Regions from separate parts of the Homo sapiens genome. Here region 2 is linked to region 1. The links are contacts of gene promoters, found by promoter capture Hi-C in blood cells and fetal thymus (Javierre and others, 2016). All regions are on one chromosome and are shown on one strand. The core of a region is centred on a gene start or on the middle of the fragment in contact, and the rest is flanking DNA. Distances in the headings are between cores, read along the strand shown. Region 1 holds the start of HOMER2 (homer scaffold protein 2). Region 2 overlaps AP3B2 (adaptor related protein complex 3 subunit beta 2).

Region 1 (7,031 bases), core at 1,660-4,159:
ACATTTGTTTCATATGCAGTTGAAAGAACTGACCTTTTATGGTTAGAAAAAAAAATGTTTGAAGTCCCTGGACCAGCCATACCAGAAATCTGAGCACACTAATAACAACATTATGCATGTACATGGTGAGCCTAATTTTGCTGTTGAAAGTAAAAATACAGGCCGGGCATGGTGGCTCACGCCTATAATCCCAGCACTTTGGGAGGCCGAGGCAGGCGGATCACAAGGTCTGGAGATCGAGACCATCCTAGCTAACATGGTGAAACCCCATCTCTACTAAAACTACAAAAAAGTAGCCAGGTGTGGTGGCATGCGCTTGTAGCCCCAGCTACTCGGGAGGCTGAGGCAGGAGAATTGCATGAACCCAGGAGGCAGAAGTTGCAGTGAGCCAAGATTGCGCCACTGCACTCCAGCCTGGGCAACAGAGTGAGACTCCGTCTCAAAAAAAAAAAAAAAAGAAAAAGAAAAAGAAAGTAAAAATACGTAGATTATAGGTTTTGAAATCAATTTAGTAGGTTATGAGCAGTACTGCTTTTAAAAATAGAACAGAATGGGCCGGGCACGGTGGCACACGCCTGTAATCCCAGCACTTTGGGAGGCTGAGGTGGGCCGATCACGAGGTCAAGAGATGGAGACCATCCTGGCCAACATGGTGAAATCCTGTCTCTACTAAAAATACAAAAATTAGCTGGGGTGGTGGTGCGCGCCTGTAGTCCCAGCTACTTGGGAGGCTGAGGCAGGAGAATCGCTTGAACCTGGGAGGCGGAGGTTGTGGTGCCCTGAGATCATGCCACTGCACTCCAGCCTGGTGACAGAGCAACACTCTGTCTCAACAACAACAACAACAAAACAGAATGATGTCTGAATGCCTGCCTGGCAAGTGAGAGGATAAACATTGTTTTATATAACTTTTTGTTTCTATTTTATATCGATATACCTATAGACATAGTATGTATGTGCTGAAGTATGTACCAGGTTGCAGGTTGTAGTGTAAAATATATTTCTTACTGTGGATTGTAGTTTAAAAAAATGAAAAACTCGGCCAGGCACGGTGGCTCATGCCTGTAGTCCCAGCCCTTTGGGAGGCCGAGGCGGGTGGATCACGAGGTCAGGAGATCGAAACATGGTGAAACCCTGTCTCTACTAAAAATACAAAAAAAAAAAAAAACTGGGCGTGGTGGCATGCGCCTGCAGTCGCAGCTACTGGGGAGGCTGAGGCAGTAGAATCGCTTGAATCTGGGAGGTGGGGGTTGCAGTGAGCCGAGATCACGCCACTGCCACTGCACTCTAGCCTGGGTGAGCAGAGTGAGACTCCGTCTCAAAAAAAAAATAATAAAAATAAAATAAAAATGAAAAACTCTGATTTCAGTGGCTTGCCTTTGAAGTTATTCGAACACTTCAGAATCCTCAGGTATTACCTGATAAATGACTTGTTCAGTGTTCTACAAGCTCACTTTCCTGATATTGCTGATTACTATGCATGGAGGATTTGGAAACTCCCAAGATTATTTTATTTTTTACAAACTTATTTTGTATTTATTTATTTATTTTTTTGAGACAGTCTGGCTCTTTTCACCAGGCTAGAGTGCAGTGGCATGATCTCGGCTCGCTGCAACCCCTGCCTCCTGGGTTCAAGCGATTCTCCTGCATCAAGCCTCCCGAGTAGCTGGGAGTAGCTGGGACTACAGGAGCACGCCACCACACCCGGCTATTTATGTATTTAATTAATTAATTTATTTATTTTTTGAGACGGAGTCTCGCTCTGTTGCCCAGGCTGGAGTGCAGTGGTGCGATCTCGGCTCACTACAAGATCCGCCTTCCAGGTTCACGCGATTCTTGTGCGTCAGCCTCCGGAGTAGCTGGGACTACAGGCGCCTGTCTCCACGCCCGGCTAATTTTTTTTGTGTGTGTGTATTTTTAGTAGAGACGGGGTTTCACCGTGTTAGCCAGGATGGCCTCGATCTCCAGACCTCGTGATTCGCCCGCCTCGGCCTCCCAAAGTGCTGGGATTACAGGCGTGAGCCACCGCGCCCGACCTGTCCCTTGACTTTTTTACTGTCCTGAGATGCCAGGCTTATGTGGGCGGTGTGTTCCCAGCAGAAGATGATCCCGTGGAAGTCCCGGGGGATGAAGGTTAGGTTAGTCCCAGTGCCAGCCTTTGGTAGAAACTCAGGACCTGATAGGTAGAAAGGCGACGAAGAGAGCCTGCTCTTCTTCAAGTTCTACTTTTGCCATCCTAATTCCCCTCGCTCTAAGGATAAAACCAAGCTTGATGAAGCCGCCTTAAAACTGCCCCTTCAAGTGGGAGCCCTCATCTCATTTTTATCCAGGAAAGAGCCCAGAGCATCTGCCGCGGCCTGTAGGCTCTTCTCTGCCAGGCTGGCTTCCGAAATTTCACGGTGGCGGGTACCTTAAGGCCACTCGGCCGGGCAACTGGCAGGAAGATGAAGGTGGGCTTTAAGGAGGAGCACAGCTATGCCCATCTCAGACTCTGGAGACCCGAACGAACTCTAATCTGAATGTGTGACCTTGGGCAAATCACTTACCCTCCCCAGGCCTCGGTTCCCTTATCTGCAAAGTAAAGGTAGCCCTAAAGTCCCCGCCAGGTGTGAATGGGACTTTAAGTCCATCAGGCAGGATGTTGATGGCACTGCGCCAGGGCCCCGGGTCGGCGTGGGGCGGGGGCGCGCCAACGCGGGGCCGGCACCGAGGACTGGGTGGCCCGGGAGAAAAGCGGCGACTGCGCGGCTGCGCGGGGGACGGTGCACACAGTGCTGCGCCCCCCGCCTCTTGGCTCGCTGCCGCGGCCCGGGGGCCACGAGGTTACGTAAGGAGCCGGGCGGGGGTAGCGGCTGGGGAGGGCGGGGCGGGCACCGCCCCAGCGCGGCCGCCCAGCCCCCGCCCGCCCGCGCCTGGCGGCGGTGGCGGCAGTGGCAGCAGTGGCAGCCGCGCAGCCCCGCGGAATGGAGCGGCGCCGGGGCTGAGCCGGGCGCGCACGGGCCGCCGCATGTGCCGCGCGGGGAGCGGCTGCCGAGCGGGCGGAGAGCGAGCGCGAGAGGCCCCGTCGGAGCGGCCGCCGGAGCAGCGCCGGAGATGGGGTGAGTGAGCCCGCGCCGCGCGCTCTCCGCGCGCCCCTCCGGAGGGACTGCGGGGCCGCGGCTGGCGTAACCGGGCTCGGAGCCTCCCGGCGGGCCGGCCCCCGCCTCCCCAAGCCGGAGCGAGCGCACACTCTGCGCCCGGGAGTCTGGGGCCACCTGACCCGCGCCCTCCGCCGGGGCACGCGGACACCCAGCAGGGGCACCCTGGCCTGGGCGCGGAGCCCGTGGCCCTTCCCCTCCCATACAGCCCGGGCACGGGGGCACCTGACGGGGACCGGTGCCCTGGCCGGCCTCCTGCCTCGGCCATTCCGCGGTCTCTTCGCCCCTGGGCGCAGTCAACTCCAGGGCCTGTGTGAGTCTAAGCAGTTTGTCGTTCTCCACGTTTGGATTTATTACAAGCAAAATGGAAATCGAAGTTTTCCTGGAAATAATCAAATAATAATAAACCTCCAGCGTAGGAATAGTGGACTTTGGATCTGCTTTGAGATGCTGAAGATGATGGAAGTCTATAAGGAACCTAGGTGAGGCTTCAGTCTTTGAAACAACTGAGTAGATGCTCAGGAGGGAAGTTGAAATACTCTGTCGAAGTGACTAATGCTTCTGAGTATATAAAGTAATTTAAGCTTTCCCCTCGGCGTCTCTCTGAGCAGTAGGCTCTGTGAGTCTGGGAGCCACTGTGCTAATAGCACAATAACTCCTTACATCTGCTCACTCTATTTGGGCACACGTTGACGGTTTGCCATACGTATTCAGGGGACACTTATGTCCACTTTACAGATGAGGAAACTGAGGCACAAAGTGGTTCGGTGACTTCCCCCAGGCTGTGTAGTTGATGAGCATTTGTGTAGCAGGGGTGGCCTTGCCACTGCCTGACGTGGGCATGGAGGCGGGTAAGTGAACCAGAATTCCTAAATCTCTCTGTTCCCTGCTGCTGAACCCAGCATTCTTCCAACAGCCCTTCGCAGGACTCAAATGCTTCTGCTCCAAGGGTCTAGAGATCTTGCTTTCCTGTTTGGGATGGGTGGGGCCTGGGAAGGCAAGAGTGCAGTGGAAGGAGCAAGATTGTCCTGGTGCCCTGGCTCAGCCCCCCTGGGTCAGTGGCTTTCTTGCACCGTACTCCAGGTTAAGTTTCTGGAGTCATTTTGCCTGGTGAGTCTTAGCCATGGGAGCTGCAGAGTGTGTGAGGGGATCAGAGGCAGGCCAAGAGGAATTTTGAGGAATGGAAGTGTGAGGGCTGTGGGCCAACATGAACTGGACATGACAGAGGTGGGTGACAGAGAGGAGGAGGCGAGATGAGCAGCGAGGGCTGAAGAAGTGTGCTTACATTTAGGAGATTTCACATGAACAGCAACTGTGGGTGATTTTACCCAGAGGCACCCAAGTTGGCAGGCCGTATTTCTGTAACATTTCCAGTGAGTCCTCAGTGGACTGTGAAAAGGCTGATCTTTGAGCAGTGAGAGCCTTTGAGGTTCTCAGATTTCATACTTTAAAAAAATGTACAGGGAAAAAGGAGTTGGCAAATGTAAGGTCTCAGAATGGAAGATAAAAGGGATCCGGTAATTTTAACTCTCTTTCTGGCCCTCCCTCCCCCTGGCCAACACAAAACCAATCCACCGTACTTGTGTGATCAAAAACAAGTACTGAAACTCTGTGGTTGAGATCAAATAGTTCTGTGGAAATGAAAATGTTTACTCACTCATAAAACCTTAAAGAAAATGTCAAAAAATAATTTTTGTTTGTGGAGAAGCAGGGAGGAGACGCTTGGGGATTTTGTTTAAACACAGAATATGTCTTTCATGTAATTTTAACATCATTCGATAAATGTATATATTACTCACTTCTCGTAGATAAAGGCTGGTTTGTAACTCCTACCTACCTCTGCCATTTTTAATAGATCCATGTCTTCTATTATTTATGTGAAAATACAAGCCATGGTCGTAAATTGAGATGCAGCTAAGGGCTGGGGAAGCAATTCAGACAGGAGGGTGGAGGGAGCCGTTTTAACTGAAAATAGAACCAATGTCATCCTTTCTGAGAGTTGTGTAGGATGGAGGGGGAAGAACTTTTTGAAAGGGCAGCTAGTAGAAAACCTTGCTGCGATCCTACAGCTTCGTCATGGCTCTGCTGTGTAGACAGGACTAGGATTTAAGGGAAAAAAAAACAAACTATCTGAGTTTACCTCCCCCCAACTTGAGATGCTTCTCCTCCCTCAAATGTTCACTACCATTTTCCACTTCTCTTCTGCGAAGTGTTCTGTGTTAAGTGTGGCCTCTCCAGTGAGTTTGTGTTCTTACTCCCTAAGGCAACTATTTCATACCTATTCCCCTTTCCAGACCTCTCCCCTTCCTAGGCACACCCCGTGGCTTCCCTTTCAATTGACAAGATAGGCACCTTTGACCAAGGGAATGTCTTCATTTTGCCACCACCTAGTCTAGTATGCAGCTGCTGCTACCTTCTCCTACCTGCCTGCTGTGCTGGATGACCTGTCCCTCATCTCTTCCTACTAGGGGCCCCTTCTTCTGGGGTAGCCTCCATTCCATCCCTTCCTCCTCCCATCTTTTCAGAGATTGTCTCTCCTTCCTAACCACCTTTCTCTCCGGGGTCTTCTCCATCAGTATAGGAGCATACATCTGACCAACAGAACTTTCTGCACTGCTGGAAATGTTCTGTATCTGCGTGGCAGCCACCAGCACATGTGGTTATTGGACACTTGAAATGTGGTTGTTGAGACTGAGGACCTGAATTTTTAACTTAATCTAAATTTAAATAGCCACATGTAGCTAGTGGCCACCATATTGGATAGCATAGCTTTAGTTGCTCTCATCTTAAAAAGGAGATCTCCCTCCCTCCTACATCCCTCTCCTGTTTCACTTCTTTGCTCTTCTTCACCTGAAAACACCTCAGAAGATACATCCAAACCCACTGGCTCCATTCACTTTCTCCTGCCATTTGTTCACTCTCCATACTCTACAGTCTTGCTTCTGCCTCACCTCTGCACCAAAACTGCCAGGGTCTTGGGTGACCAGGGGGTTGCCAGATCTCAGCCTCACCTCACTTCACCTCTCTCAGCAGCATTCCTAACAAATGACCACTCCCTCTCCTCAAAACAACACCCCTCTCAGCTCCTCTGGCCCCACTGTTTCCTGCTTTTCTTCTTACTCCTAATCATGGGGTTGCCCAGGGACTGGTCCTGGTTCCTTTTCTCTGTCCACACTGTCTTCCTAGGTAATACTGTCCCACCTGCAACTCCTCCCCACCCTCCCATGGCTTCAAATGCCATCGATATGCCCATGATGCCCACACTTTAATTTCTAGCTCAGATCTTTCTTGGAGCTTCTGACTCTCGTCAATACATGGAGCTCTTGATATGCCTTCCAGCTCTCACCTGCCTTCCGTCTTCCCCATCCAAGTCAGTGGCCCTACCATGCACTCATTTGCCAAGAGTCATGTTTGAGTCCTCTTCCCAACCTCTCACATGCAGGCTATCAGTTTGTCCTGTGCATTCTACTTCCGGGATATATCTGGAGTGCATTCACCTCACCCCATAGCCATAGTTCCCACTCTAGCCACCATCACCTCTTTCCTAACAGGCCCCCCAGTATCCACTCTGGGTTGTCTGCAGTCCATTTTTCACACAGAAGCCTAAGTGACCAGCTTTTAAAATCATAAATCAGATCATGTCATTCCCCTTTTTAAATACCTCCCACTGACCAGGCGCTGGGCGCAGCTCCCCCTGCCATGCTGCTGTGCCCCTCACTGTGTTCTGCTAACATAGATCTCCTTTCCTTTTCTTGCCTTACCTGAGATCCTTGCACTTGCTGTTTCCCCTGCCTGGAATTCTCTTACCTTCCTCTTTCCTTTCAGACTTTGGCCTCAGGGTCACCCCTTCAGGGTCTTTCCTGCCATCCTGTCTAGAGCACCCACCTCCAGAAC
Region 2 (7,031 bases), core at 2,876-5,375, 280 kb after region 1:
ATCTCCTGAGATGGTTCCAGGAGATTCTCCTAAAATGAAGCATAATGTGCTGAGCTTTTCAAGGTGTCAGGGACATCAAACACCATGACGATTTCCACACTCTCCCACTCAGTTAAGCAGGACAGGGATTGGCAAACTACTGCCCATAGGCTGAATTTGGCCTATTCCTGTTTTTGTAATAAAGTTTTGTTGGAACACAGCCCTGCTCATTCATTTACAAATTACCTATGGCTGCTTTTGTGCTACAACAGCAGGGTTAACTAGTTGCAACAGACTGTATTGCCCACAAAGCCTAGAATAGTTATTCTCTGGCCCTTTTATAAAAAGACTCTGCCAATCCTTGAAGCAAAACCTCTGGCTAGGTGGCTGGGGTCTACAGATTTATAGCAGGGATATCCCCTGGAGACTGTAGCATCCCTGCCATGTCCACTGTGCGTGGGAGTCTTTGGATGGTGGCACTTATCTTTTTCAGTGGCTTCTTTGATCCATTGTGGCCAGAGTGAGCCCCAGAGGCTCAAGGTGAGGTAGGCAGGGCCACCAAGTGCTGTGACTGTAATCAGGAGTCAAAGGACAGCAGCAACATGTGGAGGCAACTGAGTCTGTATAATTAAATATGCTAGCCTTATCAAAAGTAACTTCCAAACCTTAGGTCTTCAGGTGGAAGGAGGAGAGACACTGGACCATGTGACCCTGAGCTTGTTATCAGTGTTGTGGGCAAAGCAGATTGGAGAGAGAGAAGTTAGAGGGGGAGAGAGAGAAGTTAGAGGGAGAAAGAGCACCATGGGGAAGCGTTCAATCGTTGAAAAAATATTTGTATACTTCCTTTGTTCAGGTGGGAGGAAGGAGCAAGTGGGAGGAATGTTTGAAAAGATGAAGCAGCCTGGGTGGGGAGCCACCCAGGTAGGTGGGAGTCTTGACATGCTCAGCAATGAGCCAGAGTCCTAAACCCCAGGATGGTGAGGTTGGCATGTTTTCATAAGCCTGGGCCTGTCCACATGTCATTTCCCCCAAGTTGTCACTGTGAGCTACATGTGCATTTGTTCATTTATTTAACATATATGTAGGTGGGAGTCTGACATGCTCAGCACTGAGCCAGAGTCCTAAACCCCAGGATGGTGAGGTTGGCATGTTTTCATAAGCCTGGGCCTGTCCACATGTCATTTCCCCCAAGTTGTTACTGTGAGCTACATGTGCATTTGTTCATTTATTTAACATGTAGGCCTACTATTTGCCTGGTACTGTGCTGCGTCCTGAGGATATGACAATGAGTGAGACACATTTACAGGTCTCCAGATACTCACAGCCAAGTAGGAGAAACAGGACAAAAATAAACATTTTAAACACAGCAGTAACAGCTGTCATCAGGGTTGGCACAGCGAGCTGTGGGTATATACAGCTGAACCCTCCCCTAGGAATGACCCCTGTCAGGGAACCCAGAGTAGGCTGTTCAGGCAAATGGACACTCACCTCCAGGGCGCCCTTCACCTGCAAGTGAGTTTTTGCAGGCCCCTTAGAATGGTTATTTGATTCAATAAAGATTTTTGTCCTCCCTTTCTTTCTCCTTTCTTCCCAGCCTCTTCTGGGAGTGGTAAAGAAGGGGGAGTCCTTGGGGTACTAGGAGGGAGGTGGTTTGGATGCGCACATGACCATGCTTGCAAAACAGTAGTGATGCTTCCCATCCTGGGACCATGAGTGGCAATCTGCCCAGCTAAAAGGCCACAGTAATCTCAGTCATTCTCTCCAATTTGGACATGGGCCCACGGCATGCCAGATCCTGGCCCAGGATGAGGCCAAGGAAATGACCAAGATGAGGCCTCTGCCCTGCTATTGATCAGCAGATAATCAGATACTAGACCAGAGGCCACAAAGGCATAACATGCAGGTGGCGGGGGATGGGGGGGTTGGTAATCAAAGTGGCTATTACATCCACCTGGATATAGACCCTGGGGAAACTGCCTAGCAGGTTAGTTTGCTTTTATGTGTCAGGTGAGATGTGTGGCAGGAGGGTCTGCCAGGGGCACAGTGGGATCTACAACCCTCCCATGTGACCGCCTTTACAGTGAATAGAAGATTCTGACAAATTTTGCAGAATTGCTTTTAAAAACGTAAACTTTTTTTAATATGCTAAAGGTAATACATGCTTATCATAGAACATTTGGAAAACTCAGAAAATTATAAGTTTAAACTATTAATAAGTCCACCATTTAGAAGACCACCATTAATTATATATTTCCTTATTTTTTATTCCTATATATAGTCATTCAGAAGTTGTACTTTTGTCTATTGTCCAATATTTTAAACTTTTCTGCTTCTTTTCAATGCTTTCATATTTAATACTTTTTTTTCCCCATTCACATTTCAATTAAACTTTTCACTTAGAATTTTCTCCAGGCTGGGTTCAGTGGCTCACACCTGTAATCCCAGCACTTTGGGAGCCCAAGGTGGGTGGGTCATTTGAGGTCATGAATTCAAGACCAGCCTGACCAACATGGCAAAACCCTGTCTCTACTAAAAGTACAAAAAAATTAGCTGGGTGTGGTGGTGCGCTGAAATCTCAGCTACTTGGGAGGCTGTGGCAGGAGAATTGCTTGAACCCAGGAGGTGGAGGTTACAGTGAGCTGAGATGGTACCACCACACTCCAGCCTGGGCCACAGAGCAAGATCCATCTCAAAAATAAATAAAAATTAAAAAGAATTTCCTCCAAATTTTTTTCTACTTTCACATTTTTAAATCAATTGTATTAGTTTTCTGCTACATAATAAATTACTATAAATTTGGTGGCTTCAAACAACACACGTTTATTTTCTCAGTGTCTATGGGTCGAGAATTCAGGTATGGCTTAGTTGGATCTTATGCAAGGCTACAACTGAGGTGTCAGCCAAGGCTGAGTTTTTATCTGGAGGCTGTACTGGGGAAAGGTCCACTTCCAAGTCACATGGTGCCACGATCCACTTCCTTGCAGTTGTAGGATTGTGGCCCTGGCTTCTTGCTGGCTGTCAGCTGGGGGCTGCCCTTGCCTTCTAGAGGCCGTCCTTAGCTCATTGCCATAGGGGCCTCCCAACACGGATGCTTAATTTCTCCAAAGCCACAAGGGAGAAAGTCTCTAGAGCCAGTCTGCTAGCAAGACCGTCTTCTTTTTATTTTTTAATTTTTATGGGTACATAGTAGGTGTATATATTTATGGGGTATGTGAGATATTTTGATACAGGCATATAATGCATAACAATCACATCAGGGAATGGGGTATCCATCCTCTCAAGCATTTATCTTTTGTGTTACAAACAATCAAATTACACTCTCTTAGTTATTTATAAATGTATAATAAATTATTGTTGACTGTAGTCACCCTGTTGTGCTGTCAAATACTAGATCTTACACATTCTATCTAACTATAATTTTGTACCCATTAACTATCCCCACTTCCCCCACCCACTACCCTTCTCAGCCTCTGGTAACCATTATTCTACTCTCCAACTCCATGAGCTCAATTCTTTTAATTTTTAGCCCTCACAAATAAGTGAGAACATGTGAAGTTTGTTTTTCTGTGCTTGGCTTATTTCACTTAAAATAATGACCTCTAGTTCTATCCATGTTGTTGCAAATGACAGGATCTCATTCTTTTTTATTCTTTTTTTATAGTACTGCATTGTGCATATGTACCGTATTTTCTTTATCTATTTGTCTGTTGATAGACACTTAAGTTGCTTTCAAATCTTGGCTATGGTGAACAGTGCTGCAATAAACGTAGGTGTGCAGATATAACTTCAATATGTTGATTTCCTTACTTTTGGGTATATACATAGCATTGGGATTGCTGGATCATATGGTAGCACTATTTTTAGTTTTTGTTTGTTTGTTTGAGATGGAGTCTTGCACTGTCACCCAGGCTGGAGTGCAATGGCATGATCTCAGCTCACTGCAACCTCCGCCTCCCAGGTTCAAACGATTCTCCTGCCTCAGCCTCCTGAGTAGCTGGGATTACAGGCGCCCGCCACCAAGTCTGGCTAATTTTCATATTTTTAGTAGAGATGGGGTTTCACCATGTTGGCCAGGCTGGTCTTGAACTCCTGGCCGCAAGTGATCTGCCCGACTCGGCCTCCCAAAGTGCTGGGATTACAGGCGTGAGCCACTGCACCTGGCCTATTTGTAGTGTTTTTTTTTGAGATGGTGTTTCACTCTTTTTTCCCAGGCTGGAGTGCAATGGCGTGATCTTGCCTCACTGCAACCTCTGCCTCCTGGGTGCAAGTGATTCTTCTTCTGCCTCAGCCTCCCAAGTAGCTGAGATTACAGGTGCCTGCCACCACGCCTAGCTAATTTTTTGTATTTTTAGTAGAGACAGGGTTTCACCATGTTGGCCAGGATGGTCTTGATCTCTTGACCTCGCGATCCACCCACCTCGGCCTCCCAAAGTGCTGGGATTACAGGTGTGAGCCACCGTGCCCGGCCTATGTTTAGTTTTTTAAGGAACCTCCAAACTGTTCTCCAGACATTTCCACTAACAGTGTACAAGGGTTGCCTTTTCTCCATGTTCTTGTCAGCATTTGTTATTGCCTATCTTTTGGATATAAGCCTACTTGGGGTGAGATGATATATCTTTTTTTGTTTTGTTTTGTTTTTTGAGACGGAGTCTTGCTCTGTCACCCAGGCTGGAGTGTGCAGTGGTGCGATCTTGGCTCACTGCAACCTCTGCCTCTGTGGTTCAAGTGATTCTCCTGCCTCAGCCTCCTGAGTAGCTGGGACTACAGGCGTGCGTCACCACGCCCCGTTAATTTCTGTACTTTTAGTAAAGATGGGGTTTCGCTGTGTTGGTCAGGCTGGTCTCAACTCCTGATCTCAGGTGATCCGCCTGCCTCAGCCTCCCAAAGTACTGGGATTACAGGCATGAGCCACCCGTGCCTGGCCTTTCATTGTAGTTTTGATTTGCATTTCTCTGATGCTCAATGATGTTGATCACCTTTTCATATACGTGTTTGCTATCTGTATGTCTTCTTTTGAGAAATGTCTATTCAGCTCTTTTGCCCATTTTTAAATTGGATTATTGAATTTTTTTTTCCTATTGAGTTATTTGATCTCCTTACGTATTCTGGTTATTAATCCCTTGTCAGATGGGTAGTTTGCAAATTTTTTCCTCCTATTCTGTGGCTTGTCTCTTTGTTGATTCCTTTGCTGTGCAGAACCTTTGTAACTTGATGTGATCCCATTTGTCTACTTTTGCTTTGGTTGCCCGTGCTTGTGGGGTATCACTCAAGAAATCTTTGCCCAGTACAATGTCCTGGAGAATTTCTCTAATGTTTTCTTTTATTAGTTTCATAGTTTGAAGTGTTAGATTTAAGTTTTTAATCCACTATGATTTGATTTTTGCATATGGTGAGAGATAGGGGTCTGGTTTTATTGTTCTGCATGTGGATATCCCGTTTTCCCAGCGCCATTTATTGAAGAGACTCTCCTTTCCCTAATGTATGTTCTTGATACCTTTGTCAAAAATGAATTCACGGCCAGGCGTGGTGGCTCATGCCTGTAATCCCAGCATCTTGGGAGGCCGAGGCTGGTGGATCACCTGAAGTCAGGAGTTCAAGAGCAGCCTGGCCAGCATGGCGAAACCCTGTCTCTACTAAAAATACAAAAATTAGCTGAGCGTGGTGGCGGGTGCCTGTAATCCCAGCTACTTGGGAGGCTGAGGCAGGAGAATTGCTTGAACCCGGGAGGCGGAGGTTGCAGTGAGCCAAGATCGCGCCACTGCACTCCAGCCTAGGGGACAAGAGCGAGACTTCATCTTCGTCCCCCCCCGCCAAAAAAAAAAAAGCCACTGATTTTTTTTTTTTTTTTTTTTTTTGGAGACGGAGTTTTGCTCTTGTTGCCCAGGCTGGAGTGCAATGGGTTTTTTTTTTTTTTTTTTTTTGAGATGGAGTTCTCACTCTGTTGCCCAGGCTCTGGACTGCAGTGACGCGATCTCCACTCACCACAACCTCTGCCTCCCGGGTTCAAGCAATTCTCCTGCCTCAGCCTCCCGAGTAGCTGGGATTACAGGCATGCACCACCATGCCCAGCTAATTTTGTATTTTTAGTAGAGACAGGGTTTCTCCATGTTGGTCAGACTGGTCTCGAACTCCTGACCTCAGGTATTCTGCCTGCCTCGGCCTCCCAAAGTGCTTGCTAGGATTACAGGTGTGAGCCACTGTGCCTGGACAATGCTACTGATTTTTTTTTTTTTTGAAACGGAGTCTTGCTCTGTCACCAGGCTGGAGTGCAGTGGCGCCATCTTGGCTCACTGCAACCTTCACCTCCCGGGTTCAAGCGGTTCTCCTGCCTCAGCCTCCTGAGTAGCTCGGACTACAGGTGTGCATCACCACATCCAGCTAATTTTTGTATTTTTAGTAGAGACAGGATTTCATCATGTTGGCCACGATGGTCTCAATCTCTTGATCTCACGATCTGCCTGCCTCGGCCTCCCAAAGTGCTGGGATTACAGGCATCAGCCACCGCACCTGGCCAATGCTACTGATTTTTATGTGGATTTTGTATCCTGCGACTTTACTGAATTTATTAGTTCTAATAGTTTTTTGGTGGAATCCTTAAGATTTTTTAAATATAAGATCATATCATCTGCAAACAAGGATAATTTGAATTCTTTTCCAATTTGGATACCCTTTATTTCTTTCTCCTGTCTGATTGCTCTAGATAGAACTTCCAATACAGAGTCTTCTTAATAAAACATAATCATAGGATCATATATAGTCATATACCACCTTTGCCATATCCTGTTGGTTAGAAGCAAGTCTCAGGTTTTGCCCATACCCAAGGTGAGGGATTGCACAAAGGCATGAACACCAGGAGGCAGCTACTGGTGGGGAAGACCTTAGAATCTGTCTGCCACATCCATCTAGAGCTTAAACTTACTCATGTGTAATGTGTGAATTGAGGATATATTTCAATTTTTTTTAACAGCCAGTTTTCTAAGCATGATTAGCAGGCATCTGCAAGGTAGCATGTATGTTGGCATAGGTTATGGAAAGGAAGTCAGTGTTTCCTG

The links. Contacts are between HindIII fragments. The CHiCAGO score rates a contact against its expected background, and 5 or more counts as called.
Region 2: a contact is called between a fragment that was not itself captured here and the fragment with the promoter of HOMER2 in region 1, in 3 of 17 cell types (naive CD8 T cells, total CD4 T cells and total CD8 T cells). The highest score is 6.7, in naive CD8 T cells.

The regions. Positions count from the first base shown.
Region 1 is chr15:82,948,598-82,955,628 of GRCh38, reverse strand. HOMER2 (homer scaffold protein 2) reads left to right here and starts at 2,909. Exons shown (of 9, transcript NM_004839.4): 1 at 2,909-3,098. The coding sequence starts at 3,094. RefSeq lists an enhancer at 3,159-3,659. The HindIII fragment of the contact is 1,453 bases long and covers 2,271-3,723 here.
Region 2 is chr15:82,668,873-82,675,903 of GRCh38, reverse strand. All of the region lies in intron 14 of AP3B2 (adaptor related protein complex 3 subunit beta 2), which reads left to right. All of the region lies in intron 3 of CPEB1-AS1 (CPEB1 antisense RNA 1), which reads right to left. Among named protein-coding and RNA genes, the nearest start is that of CPEB1-AS1, 25 kb to the right of the region's middle. The HindIII fragment of the contact is 8,602 bases long and covers 1-7,031 here.